Regions from separate parts of the Homo sapiens genome. Here regions 2, 3 and 4 are each linked to region 1. Evidence: promoter capture Hi-C in human tissues and cell types (Jung and others, 2019). All regions are on one chromosome and are shown on one strand. The core of a region is centred on a gene start or on the middle of the fragment in contact, and the rest is flanking DNA. Distances in the headings are between cores, read along the strand shown.

Region 1 (2,700 bases), core at 111-2,610:
ACAGGTCTGGGAGGAATGAACAGTTGGGACACCGCGGAGACCCTGGGCAGTGCTCTAATACACCCCTTTGATGTTGCGGTGCTGGGGATGCTGGAGCCAGGAGGAAACAGTTGTGAGCCTTGGCTGGGGGACGGTCCTTTCTAGTCATGTGGCCTCGGGGTGATGGCAGACCAGCCCTCAAGGACGGGTTGCGAGGGCTCTGAGATACTCAGCTAACATTAGCATCCTTCTAGCCTGGGTGGTGGGGTGGTGGGTGCGGGGACACAAGGGACCACCCCCCACCGGAAATGACTCGGGCCCGCCCCCCGGGCCCCGCGGGGCCTCACTCAGTGGCTCCGGCTCCTCGGCGCACTTCTCCTGGAGCTGGTGCAGGAACTCACGGAACCTGCTGGGGAGGAGCTCTCCTAGGAAGGCGCCCAAGAAGTCGGGGTCCTCCCTGGCCACGCGCCTCCGGGGGCGCTCGCGCTCTCCAGGCCCTGGCTGCCTGGGCGCCGATTCCCGGGACGCGCCGGCCGACAGCAGGGGAGGCGGCAGCAGGGACCGCAGCAGCCCCCGCTTCCGCACGGCCCGCCGGGTCGCGGTGAGCAAGGCGGGCAGGCGCGGCGGGAGGCGTCCGACGCCCACCCCGGGCTTGGCGTCCCCTTCCGGCCACCACGCGGCGCCGCCCCCCGGGATCCTCCAGTCCCCGGAGCCCCGCGCGCCCAGAGCCGCTCGGAGCGCGGGCGGGGTCAGCTTGGGCAGCCGCGGGTCGCTGCTGCGTCGGAAGTCTCCGTCGCCAGGGAGCCCCTTGGGCGCCAGGTCCTGGGCCCCTGGGCGAAGTCGACGCCAGAACATGCTTGGCCCCGCACTCAGCTCACCGCACCCTCAGCGCGCGTGGGTGGGGGGCGCCGGCTGAGGTGGGGAGGGCATAGTCCAGCCCCAGGCCATAGTGCCCCGGGCGGGGCAGCGCGGTGCGGGGTGAACGCCACCGGCCCGGCGGACAGCGAGTGGCTTCAGGCGAGAGCTCCCAGAGCCTCTGTTTCCTCACCTGAAAAATGGTGACAGCAAGAGTAGCCAACTTTGGGGGTTGCTGTGACGTTTAAATGAGCAAGTACATGCCAGTCTTAGAACAGCAAGCTCGGTACAGTGCCAGGCACGCTGGCCAAGCTTACACATAGACTAGCTGCCATTCTTAGTATTTCAAAGTTATTATTATTTAGGATTTAGTCCCAGCTCCACCACTTATTAGCTTTGTAACCTTGGCCAAGCCAATTAACTTCCCTCTGCCTTCCCTGGGGGCTCTGGTCTGCAGAATGGGGATAATAGCAGCACCTGCCTCTCTGCAGCCGTGAAACGGCATCACCGCATCACCGCTGGTAGAGAGAGCACTTAGCCTGCCTTGCAGTGTTCAAAGCGTGGAACTGTTACCGTCATTAGCGCTCTACTGGGAATTAGGAAACCTGGAACCAGCTTGAGGGAAGAGAGACCTGACCAGCAGCCTCCCAGCCCTGGTGCTGCCTCAGAGACCCCTGGGTGGGGAGCCTGTTGAAAATACAGATGACTTACCCCCAGCCCCCATTCTGATTCAGTACGTCTCTGCTGGAGCCAAGACAGTTTGTTGTTCTTGTTGTTGTTGTTAAAGAGATGGGGTCTTGCTAAGACGGGGTCCTGCTGTCACCCAGGCTGGAGTGCAATGGCACCATCATAGCTCACTGCAGCCTCAAATTCTTGGGCTCAAGTGATCCTCCTGCCTCAGCCTCCTGAGTAGCTGGGACTACAGGCACACACCACCACAGTTGGCTAATTTTTGTATATTTTGTAGAAATGGGGTAGAATTTTTTTGTATTTATGTTGCACGGGCTGGTCTTGAACTCCTGGGCTCAAGTGATCCACTTGCCTTGGCCTCCCAAAGTGCTGGGATCACAGGCGTGAGTCCCCACTTCTGGCCAAGACACAGACTTTTAACAAACTCCCCCTTTGGGAGGCAGAGCCCCAGTCTTACTCCCAGCTCTGACACTGAGGGGTTTCTAAGCCTGCTTCCTCCCAACCACACCCCACTCCCAGATTGTTGTCAGCTCTGAGCTGACTCCTGGGCAGTGTCACACTCACCCTGGTGGGCTTCTGGGTGGGGCCCTAGAAGGTCCTGTGAGTTTAGAGCTCTCTACAGGCAGGCTGTAGAGCCCATCATCCCTGCCTGGTGCCTCTCCCAGCCCCTCCCGGCTGCCTCTGGGCCGCTTCAGGGTCATTGTGATCCGCCCCTCACCCCTGGGCATCTGAGTAGCAGTGGGCACTGAGGCCTGGGGACTAAGGGTGGGGCTATTGTGCCCTGGATGCCCTGGCCGCAGCCACCTGGGGCACTGGGACTCTGACCAGGGCAGCCAGGCCTACCCTTTCCAGATCTGGGAGGCTTAGGCTGGGTGGCTCTGGAAGTAGAACTTCCACCCCAAGACCAGGCAGTCAGAATACAATGGACCTAGAAATGAACAGACCCTGCGGGGCACGGTGTCTCACGCCTGTAATCCCAGCACTTTGGGAGGCCGAGGCGGGCGGATCACCTGAGGTCAGAAGTTCAATACCAGCCTGGCCAACATGGTGAAACCTCGTCTCTACAAAAAATACCAAAATTTGCCATGCATGGTGTTGTGCACCTATAATCCCAGCTACTTGGGAGGCTGAGACAGGAGAATCGCTTGACCCTGGGAGGCGGAGGTTGCAGTGAGC
Region 2 (2,700 bases), core at 86-2,585, 460 kb before region 1:
CACCACAGGAATTGGCAAATTCTTCAAGTGAGCTCCACCCACCAGCTGGTTTTAAACATTTACACTACTGGGAAGGTTTGAGATGGGGAGAGCTATGATTCGACTTCAACATGTTCGCATGTACGGGAGTGGAGAGGAGGAGAACGGCCAGTAGGAGGGCAAGCGCGAACACAGGAAGACCAGGGAGATCTGCAGGGAGGTTAGTGCACTAGTCCAGGAGGGAGGTGGTGTGGCTGGGCTGGGAGAGCAACAGCAATGGTACTAAGGTAGATTGTGAAGCTCTTCTTTTTTTTTTTTTTTTTTTGAGACGGAGTGTCTGTCACCAGGCTGGAGTGCAATGGCGCGATCTCGGCTCACTGCAGCCTCTGCCTCCTGGATTCAAGTGATTCTCCTGCCTCAGCCTCCCGAGGAGCTGAGATTACAGACATGCGCAACCACGCCTGGCTAATTTTTGTATTTATTAGTAGTGATGGGGGTTTCACCATGTTGGCCAGGCTGGTCATGAACTCCTGACCTCAGGTGATCCTCCTGTCTTGGCCTCCCGAAGTGCTGGAATTACAGGCGTGAGCCGCCGTGTCTGGCCTGATTGTGAATCTCTTCTGAAGGAGGATTTGCTGATGGACTGGATTTGGCTTTGTGAACAAAAAAGGAGTCACGATGCCCTGGTTTTTGGCCTGAACAACTTGCTGGATGGTGGGACGGGGCAATGGCGGGGAGAAGCAGAGGTTGTAGGTGTCTCTCCGGGGTTTGAAAGGCCCAGACAGACGAGTTCTTAGATGTCAGTATCCCAAGAGTAGAGGCCAAACATGGTGGGACCCTTGACTTGCATTCGGCACGGAGGTCCTGGCTGGAGAGAATTGTCAGTGGGTTGAAGGGACCAGGAGAAGGTGGCAGGAAGGGAGAAGGGGCCAAGGCCTGAGCCCTGGGACTCGCCGGCATTTAGAGGAAGGGAGACTGGGAACTATGAGCCGGAAGAGAGGAACTACATTGCGTCTCTCCTCCAGCTGGTATCTACATTTTTTATTTTTTCACACCAAGCACGAGAGGTGTGTGTACAAGACGCACAGTGGCGGCCTGTGGCTGTGCAGCGCCCTCTCCTCTGGCAACAGAACCTTCTTCCCAATGGAGAAGCCACGAGAAAGGGTTGAGGTGGGGCCGGTCAGCCCCCTACTCAGGGGTGGACACATGCCCAGACCTGGCCAATCACAGGGGCCCTGCTTTCCTGTGCACTGTGATTGGTTCTGGGATGAGCTTGTGACCTGGCTGTGCCAATGAGGATCATCCCCAATGCCCTCTGTTAGATCAGGTGGGAAGATGCCCTGTGCCAGGGCTGCTAAGCTGGGAAGATGCCATCCTGGGGATGCCAGTGGCAAGGCCAGGTACAGGATCTGTGGGGTGCGATACAACATGAAAATGCAGGGCCCCTTGCTCAAAAAGCAGGAAAAAGTGCCACGAAGGGTCCATAGAACGCTTCCTTCCACCATCTCTCAACTTGTCATGGCATTTTAAATTTTCTATTCAATGTCATTCTAAGTACAGAAAGGTGTACTTAGAAAGGTGTAATTATTGTAAATAATTAGCATGAATTTTACCATTCATCTTTATATTGCGTAATACCAGTTTTATTTATATTTATTTATTTATTTATTTTAAGATGGAGCCTCTCTCCCTGTCACTCAGGCTGGGGTGCAGTGGCCAATCTCGGCTCGCTGCAACCTCTGCCTCCCAAGTTCAAGCAATTCTCGTGCCTCAGCCTCCTGAGTAGCTGGGATTACAAGTGTGTGCCACCACACCTGGCTAATTTTTGTATTTTGAGTAGAGACAGGGTTTCACCACGTTGGCCAGGCTGGTATTGAACTTCTGACCTCAAGTGATCTGCCCACCTCCCAAAGTGCTGGGATTACAGGCATGAGCCACTCTGCCTGGCTGTGTAATACCAGTTATAAATATAAATACCAGAGCATTTAATTCATGTGCAGAATCGCTGAAATTGCACAATTCATATTCTGTGGCTTGTCCCTGAGTGTGCCTTGAACTGGCCAGAAAAGACAAACACAAGCCAGGCTCAGGAAGGTTATAGGGGGAGGAGAAGACCCCCTGGTTAAGGTGGTTAAGATAGTGCTTCTCCGTATGGGAGATTGCCACAAGGGTGCACACCCTCCCAGCCCCCTCCACCCCTGCTATGCCTCCCTGCGTGCTCTCTCTAGATGGGGCCTGGCAGCTGCTGGATTAACCTTCCAACCAACCACTGGGCTGATGTCCTGAGTCCTGGTACCTCCCCTTCCCACAGGCCCCCACCTCAACCTACAGCAGAGGAGTGGTCTCTAAGGACCTCAGTACCCAGATCGGGGTAGGTGAAAGGTTCACCCCACGTCTAGACACGGTCTCTGGTTGGCTGCCAGTCAGGCTGTGGTGCTGCTAATGCACAGCAGTGGCGGCTGTCACCGTGCCCTGCAAGGTGCTGCTCACGGATGCCTGAACTCAACCCTCTCTACGCCTGTGCCCAGGTCCCTGCCGAGGATGGGAGGGAGAGGCCAGGCAGAGCCAGGGCACCAGAGTGCCAGGGGGCAGGGTAGCAGGGGGACCAAGAACCTGTCTCAGGGAGGTGGGGAGGTGGCAGGAGACAGGACTGCACCTGAGTCGAAGCTTCAAACACGCTCCACTGTCTCAGACTTCACTCAACACAAACTCAACGATAAA
Region 3 (2,700 bases), core at 105-2,604, 340 kb before region 1:
ACAAAGGTGATTCCCTTCTCTGTCTCAGCCCTCTGGTCCCCTGGAGGGGAAGCTTGCAACTCCCCAACGCTTTTCTATCAAAATGCCATCGGCAGGCAACAATAGCCAGCTAGAATTTCCTAACATTGCTTATTTTAATTGTAATTTATTTTTACTTTTACCTTCTATTTATGGCCCATGATCTTAGTTTTTTTTCCACCTAACAGTAGTCACATAAAGTTCCCTTATGGATGCATTTACCTAAGTAATAGCAGTGAATGCTTTTAAAGAAAAATAGAGAGCAAATAACAGAATAAGGTGCCACTGGAAGGGCCGGGTCAAGAGGAGGGGGTGGACGGACCTGTGGGTGGCACTGGCTTTTCGTAACTCAGGAATCAGGAAGTGTAGTTGACACTTGTTTTGTTATGTTTGCTCCAATGGAAAAGGAAGCTGTGGGTGGAGACACATCTGACGGGAGGGATTTGGATCCTGCCAGCTCGTCCCTGCAACCCCCTACTCCGGTCCCCTCAAACCTGTCCGTGGCTGGCAGCCCTGTGATACCTCGCCACATTCTGCAACAGAATCCGAGATAGAGGTAGAAGTGGGGGAGTACGTCGTGGCTGTCAGGGCAGCTTTCTGTAAAATGCTGCCTGGAGGAGCATGTGATTCCAGACCCTCCTCTCTGCAACGAAAGTGAGGTTGACACCTGCAGGTATGATTGTAACACGACTTTTAGTTCAGGTGAGCGCAGCCTTCCTCTCCTGGAGCTCTGGCTCATCCAGCCCTGAGCTCCCCAGTCCAAGGCTCTCCGGGTACCTTGGGCAGCCTCCCTAGCAGGGCGGTGGGATCGGACCAGCTGTTCCCGGCTGCTGGTCCGTTCCAAGCTGCAAGGGCCTAGGTGCGGAGCAATGACCGGCAGGCCGAGCTCCCTCCCTCCCTCTCGTTGCAGGCCTGGGGCCTCCTGGCCCACTGAGCAGAACACACAGAAGCTGGGCCCACCCCTGCCCTCCCCACAAAGGGTCACGGGAGCCACCGCCTGACTTTGAAGCCCACTGACTTGCGGCTGACAAGAGAAAAGGTATTTGGAATTAAGTGAAGGGCGGGAGGCAGGGGCGGGCTAGGCCCTGGGGTCACATAGCTGCAGGCACCTTGACTGCAGCTGCCGTTGGCCCCAGTCCCTTACTTTCTAGGGTTCTGCAGTGGGCCAGAGAAGGGACTATTATTATTATTTCATAACATTTCATCCTGGCTTATTTCTAGCCCCTCAAACGGTGTCCGTACAGGGTTGAACTGCCAAGGGCTCCCAGACCCCTGCTGCCAAGGGGCGGCTGGCTTGTGGTGGCTCTGGGGAGGCAGTGGTGCCCGTCACTGGCACTGGGGAATCTTGTCTGACTTCCCTTTTCCTCCATCTCCTCCCCAGGGCCCGGCTTTTCCTGTGCCCTTCATTTTCCTCCCCCTGTTCTGGGACTTGTGGGTGTCCCCAGAGCAAATTCTTGGGGAGCCATGCCCAGCCGGTCTAGGGGGCACTCAGGGGCTTGCATTTTGTCAGGCTCCCTCGTGGTCTGGTGTGGGTACTCTGGGGACCACATTTGGAGAACCTGGGCCCCCCAGTTGTTAACTAGCAGACGAGGGCCTGTACTTAGGGGCCATTGTCCAGCGTTTAGTGCAGAGTGACTGGAGAAATGGGAGGACCAGACCCTGTGATGGGAGTGAGGGTAGGGGGCACAAGATGGGCCGCCACCCTCCAGGATCTCCTGGTTCACACCAGTGCCTGCGAGAGGCCCCTGGGGCCTCGTGAAAGCACAGGTGGCTGGTTGCATCCCAGGGGTTCTGATTCCCAGGACTGGCCAGGCCAGAGAATCTGAATTTCTGACAAGTTCCTGGGCAAGGCCAATGCTGCTGGCCAGGAGGACCACCCTTTGAGAACCACAGGTGGACACCAGCAGCCGCAGACCCGGCTAGGACCAGGGCAGAGGCCACGCCCTCCCCATTCCCCCGGAGCTGCCTCGGCCCTTGGAGGAATGAGCAGGACCTAAACAGGAACCACGTGATGATATTGACGTGGCACCTGCATGGGAGCACTGCTGCCTGTCCACACTGAGTGCGGCTTCCAAGACCACCCGCAACACACACAGCCCTGCAAGGCGGGAGCTCACGTGCCCCTCACTTTACAGGCGAGAAAGCTGAGGCTCAGAGAGGGCAAGTGACCTGCATAAGGCCACACAGCCAGCAAGTCAGGGAACGGGTGGCCAAACCCAGACCTGCCCAGTTTCATGTTCGCGCCGTGAGGGGTCCAGCGGCTGTGGTGTCACTTCTGGTTACCCCGTCATTTAGAGGGGAAAGATGTGGAGAAATAGGAGTGTGTGTGGCAGGAAGGGACTGGGGGAGAGAAAAGGGCCCAGGAATCAGGCGTGCGTGTGGCGTTGAAAGGAGCAACAACTCAAAGTCACGCTCAAGGTCATGCTTAAGGTCATGCTCAAGGTCATGCTTAAGGTCACGAGTTCACCCCAGGAATCCCGCCCTCACTGGAGCTGAAGCAGACCCCTCCCCCAGGCTTCAGGGGTCTCCTGTGGCCAGGTGATCCCCTCCCCGTCAGCACCCCAGGGCACACAATGACACCTGATATTCCGCTAAACAGGACACTTCAGGGTGGAGGTGGGGCAGGGGGGTGGTGGGAGGCCGCAGTACTCAGCCTTTGCTCCCATGGGCCCAGCACCCCTG
Region 4 (2,700 bases), core at 126-2,625, 360 kb before region 1:
GGCCTCTGGAAACAGCCACCTTAATGCTCTGCCCTGAAGCCTCTTTTTTTTTTTTTTTTTTTTTTTTTGAGACAGAGTCTCGCTCTGTCACCTAGGCTGGAGTCCAGTGGCATGATCTCAGCTCACCGCAACCTCCACCTCCCAGGTTCAAACGATTCTTCTGCCTCAGCCTCCCAAGTAGCTGGGACTACAGGCACATGCCACCACACCCGGCTAATTTTTGTATTTTTAGTAGAGTTGGGGTTTCACTATGTTAGCCAGGATGGTCTCGATCTCCTGACCTCGTGGTCTGCCCCCGCCTTGACCTCCCAAAGTGCTGGGATTACAGGCGTGAGCCACCGCGTCCAGCCCCCCAAGCCTCTTCTTTCCTCACTTCCTGTTCTCTGTCCTCATTATTCCACCAGTCTATTGTCATTTTTTTCCCCTTCCCAGCCTGCCCAGCCAGGATATGCGGCAGGAGGTTCATTTTTGAAAGTATAAGAAGGGCCGCCGGGAATGAGTGTCTCACGGGGACAGAGTGTGCGTTTGGGAAGATGAGACGGTTGTGGAGATGGATGGTGGGGATGGTTACACAACAACGTGAATATGCTTAAAGCCACGTTCACGGAACACGTACAAATGACTAAAATGGTAACTTTCTGGTATGGATATTTTACCACAATAAAAAAAAAATGCTAAAAAAATTGTAAAGAAAAAGTGCTTTGTGTTTGCCGAACTTTTGAGGATGGGCCGCCCACTGCACATTTGCCGTTTCCCAAGCGCCTCCCACGGGCCAGGCCACGCACTTCCTCCTTTCATTCTGGAAACAAGCTTGAGGAGAGAGGTGGCGTCCTCCTTGTAGACGAGACTGAGGTTCAGAGCCTGGCAGGGGCGAGGCTGTCTTTGCAAACCCGACAGGCCTCTCTCTGGTTCTAAGAAGCACGGCAGGGACGGGGTAGGAATTTGGGCTCAAAATGGGCCTCTGGGCTGCGGAATCTTGAGCAAATTGCTTCCCATCACTGATCTTCCTCTTCTGACTATTGGGGACAATAATAGTGTCCTCCCTCGTGCAGGGGGAGGATTTGCTGAGATGTCGGAAGGTCCTAGCACAGCATCTTGGCCACCATCAAAAATAAAATTCTCCCCAGAGCTCTCCACGATGCCTCCCTTGCTGTCCAGAGGACAGAGGGCTGGAGGTAAGGTCAGGAGACCCGTGTCAGGGTCTCAGCCCTGAGGCTGACTTTGTCTGTGACCTTGGGGAAGTCCCCTGCCTTCCCTGGTCCTCAGGCTGCCCTCTGTAAAGTTAGGAGAGTGGGTAGAGTCAGCAGGGCTCTCTGGTTCTGGTTTTCTGGGGTTTCTCCCGTAATCCTGGTCCTGTCCAGAATCAATGTCCTCTCTCCCACCACCCGCTCTCTGGGCAGAGGGGTCTGGGCCCATCTCCAGTTCCACCTTTGCCCTCCACCCTGTCTTCTCAGGAGCGTCCAACCCCCAAGCAAGAGGAAAGGGAGGGGAAGGTGAAGGCAACAGAGTTCTTGATCCCAGGGTATGAGTCGCTGCCTAACACCCAGACCTGGCTTCTGACAGAAGCGCCAGCAGGAATTTCCCGCACCTCCGGTGTGAATCCTGTCCAGCTTCCTGCCATTGGCTTGAATTGTTGCCTGGTAACTCTAGGTGCAAATCACCCCTTCCCCGCAAACTACATGCTTTTTTTTTTTTTTTTTTTTTCTGAGACGGAGTTTCGCTCTTGTTGCCCAGGCTGGAGTGCAGTGGTGTGATCTTGGCTCACTGCAACCTCCGCCTCCTGGGTTCAAGCAATTCTCCTGCCTTAACCTCCCCAGTAGCTGGGATTACAGGCATGTGCCACCACGCCCGGCTAATTTTTATATTTTTAGTAGAGATGGGGTTTCACCATGTTGGCCAGGCTGGTCTCAAACTCCTGACCACAAGGGATCTGCCCACCTTGGCCTCCCAAAGTGCCGGGATTAAAGATGTGAGCCACTGTGCCTGGCCTCCCCACAACTACATGTAAGTTTCAGGATCTCAGAGACACGCTTCCTTTTGCCTGTCTCTTCTACCGTCTCCACAGGACTGGGCCAGGGGGGTGCTCCCGAGATATCCCACAGTTTTAGAGGGCCATTTAGCTAGGATCCTGGACGCTGGGAGCAAGAAAAAGAGAAAAATGGTGATTCCAAACTATAGGCTTCTGGAGGAAGAACACGTGCAGGGGAAGGCAGGCAAGGTCAGCACTCTGGGGGCTCCAGCAGATGCCAGGATGGTGCACACCGAATTCCTGGCACACGGGGGCTTAGTGACAGGACCTGGGCTATGGTGGTCACTGATAAATCATAATATTAAGAAACTCTAATGGGACATCCACAGGTGCTGGATGGAGAAAGGTAAGCATTTGGAGACATTTGACCACGATGATAATTTTCACACTAGGTGATGTTTTAGGGGTGATCACTGCATTTGAGGCACTGTGCTGAGCACTGACAGTCAAATTTCGTTTACATCTTAGAATGAGGCAGAGACTGTTGGCTTCTGCATTTTACAGATGGAGGCTGTATTAGTCTGTTCTCACATTGCTATAAAGAACTACCTGAGACTGGGTAATTTATAAAGAAAAGAGGTTTAATTGGCTCATGGTTCTGGGTAATTTACAAAGAAAAGAGGTTTAATTGGCTCATGATTCTGAAGGCTATATAGGAAGCATGGCTGGGG

The links. The method cuts DNA at HindIII sites, captures the fragments that hold promoters and counts their contacts. A contact is called where the count stands out against the background at its distance.
Region 2: a fragment that was not itself captured here is called in contact with the fragment with the promoter of C9orf50 in region 1 in 1 of the 25 tissues and cell types used here (dorsolateral prefrontal cortex).
Region 3: a contact is called between a fragment that was not itself captured here and the fragment with the promoter of C9orf50 in region 1, in 1 of the 25 tissues and cell types used here (dorsolateral prefrontal cortex).
Region 4: a contact is called between a fragment that was not itself captured here and the fragment with the promoter of C9orf50 in region 1, in 1 of the 25 tissues and cell types used here (lymphoblastoid cells).

What each region holds. Positions count from the first base shown.
Region 1 is chr9:129,619,741-129,622,440 of GRCh38, forward strand. C9orf50 (chromosome 9 open reading frame 50) reads right to left here and starts at 1,361. Exons shown (of 7, transcript NM_199350.4): 1 at 327-1,361; 2 at 1-90. The coding sequence starts at 834. It also overlaps a transcript of NTMT1 not described here. RefSeq lists an enhancer at 823-1,473. The HindIII fragment of the contact is 8,954 bases long and covers 1-2,700 here.
Region 2 is chr9:129,161,491-129,164,190 of GRCh38, forward strand. No RefSeq gene overlaps it. Among named protein-coding and RNA genes, the nearest start is that of IER5L, 15 kb to the right of the region's middle. The HindIII fragment of the contact is 3,183 bases long and covers 1-2,700 here.
Region 3 is chr9:129,282,002-129,284,701 of GRCh38, forward strand. LINC02975 (long intergenic non-protein coding RNA 2975) reads left to right here and starts at 415. Exons shown (of 3, transcript NR_121587.1): 1 at 415-691; 2 at 929-1,057. The HindIII fragment of the contact is 7,354 bases long and covers 1-2,700 here.
Region 4 is chr9:129,260,899-129,263,598 of GRCh38, forward strand. No RefSeq gene overlaps it. Among named protein-coding and RNA genes, the nearest start is that of LINC02975, 20 kb to the right of the region's middle. The HindIII fragment of the contact is 3,830 bases long and covers 1-2,700 here.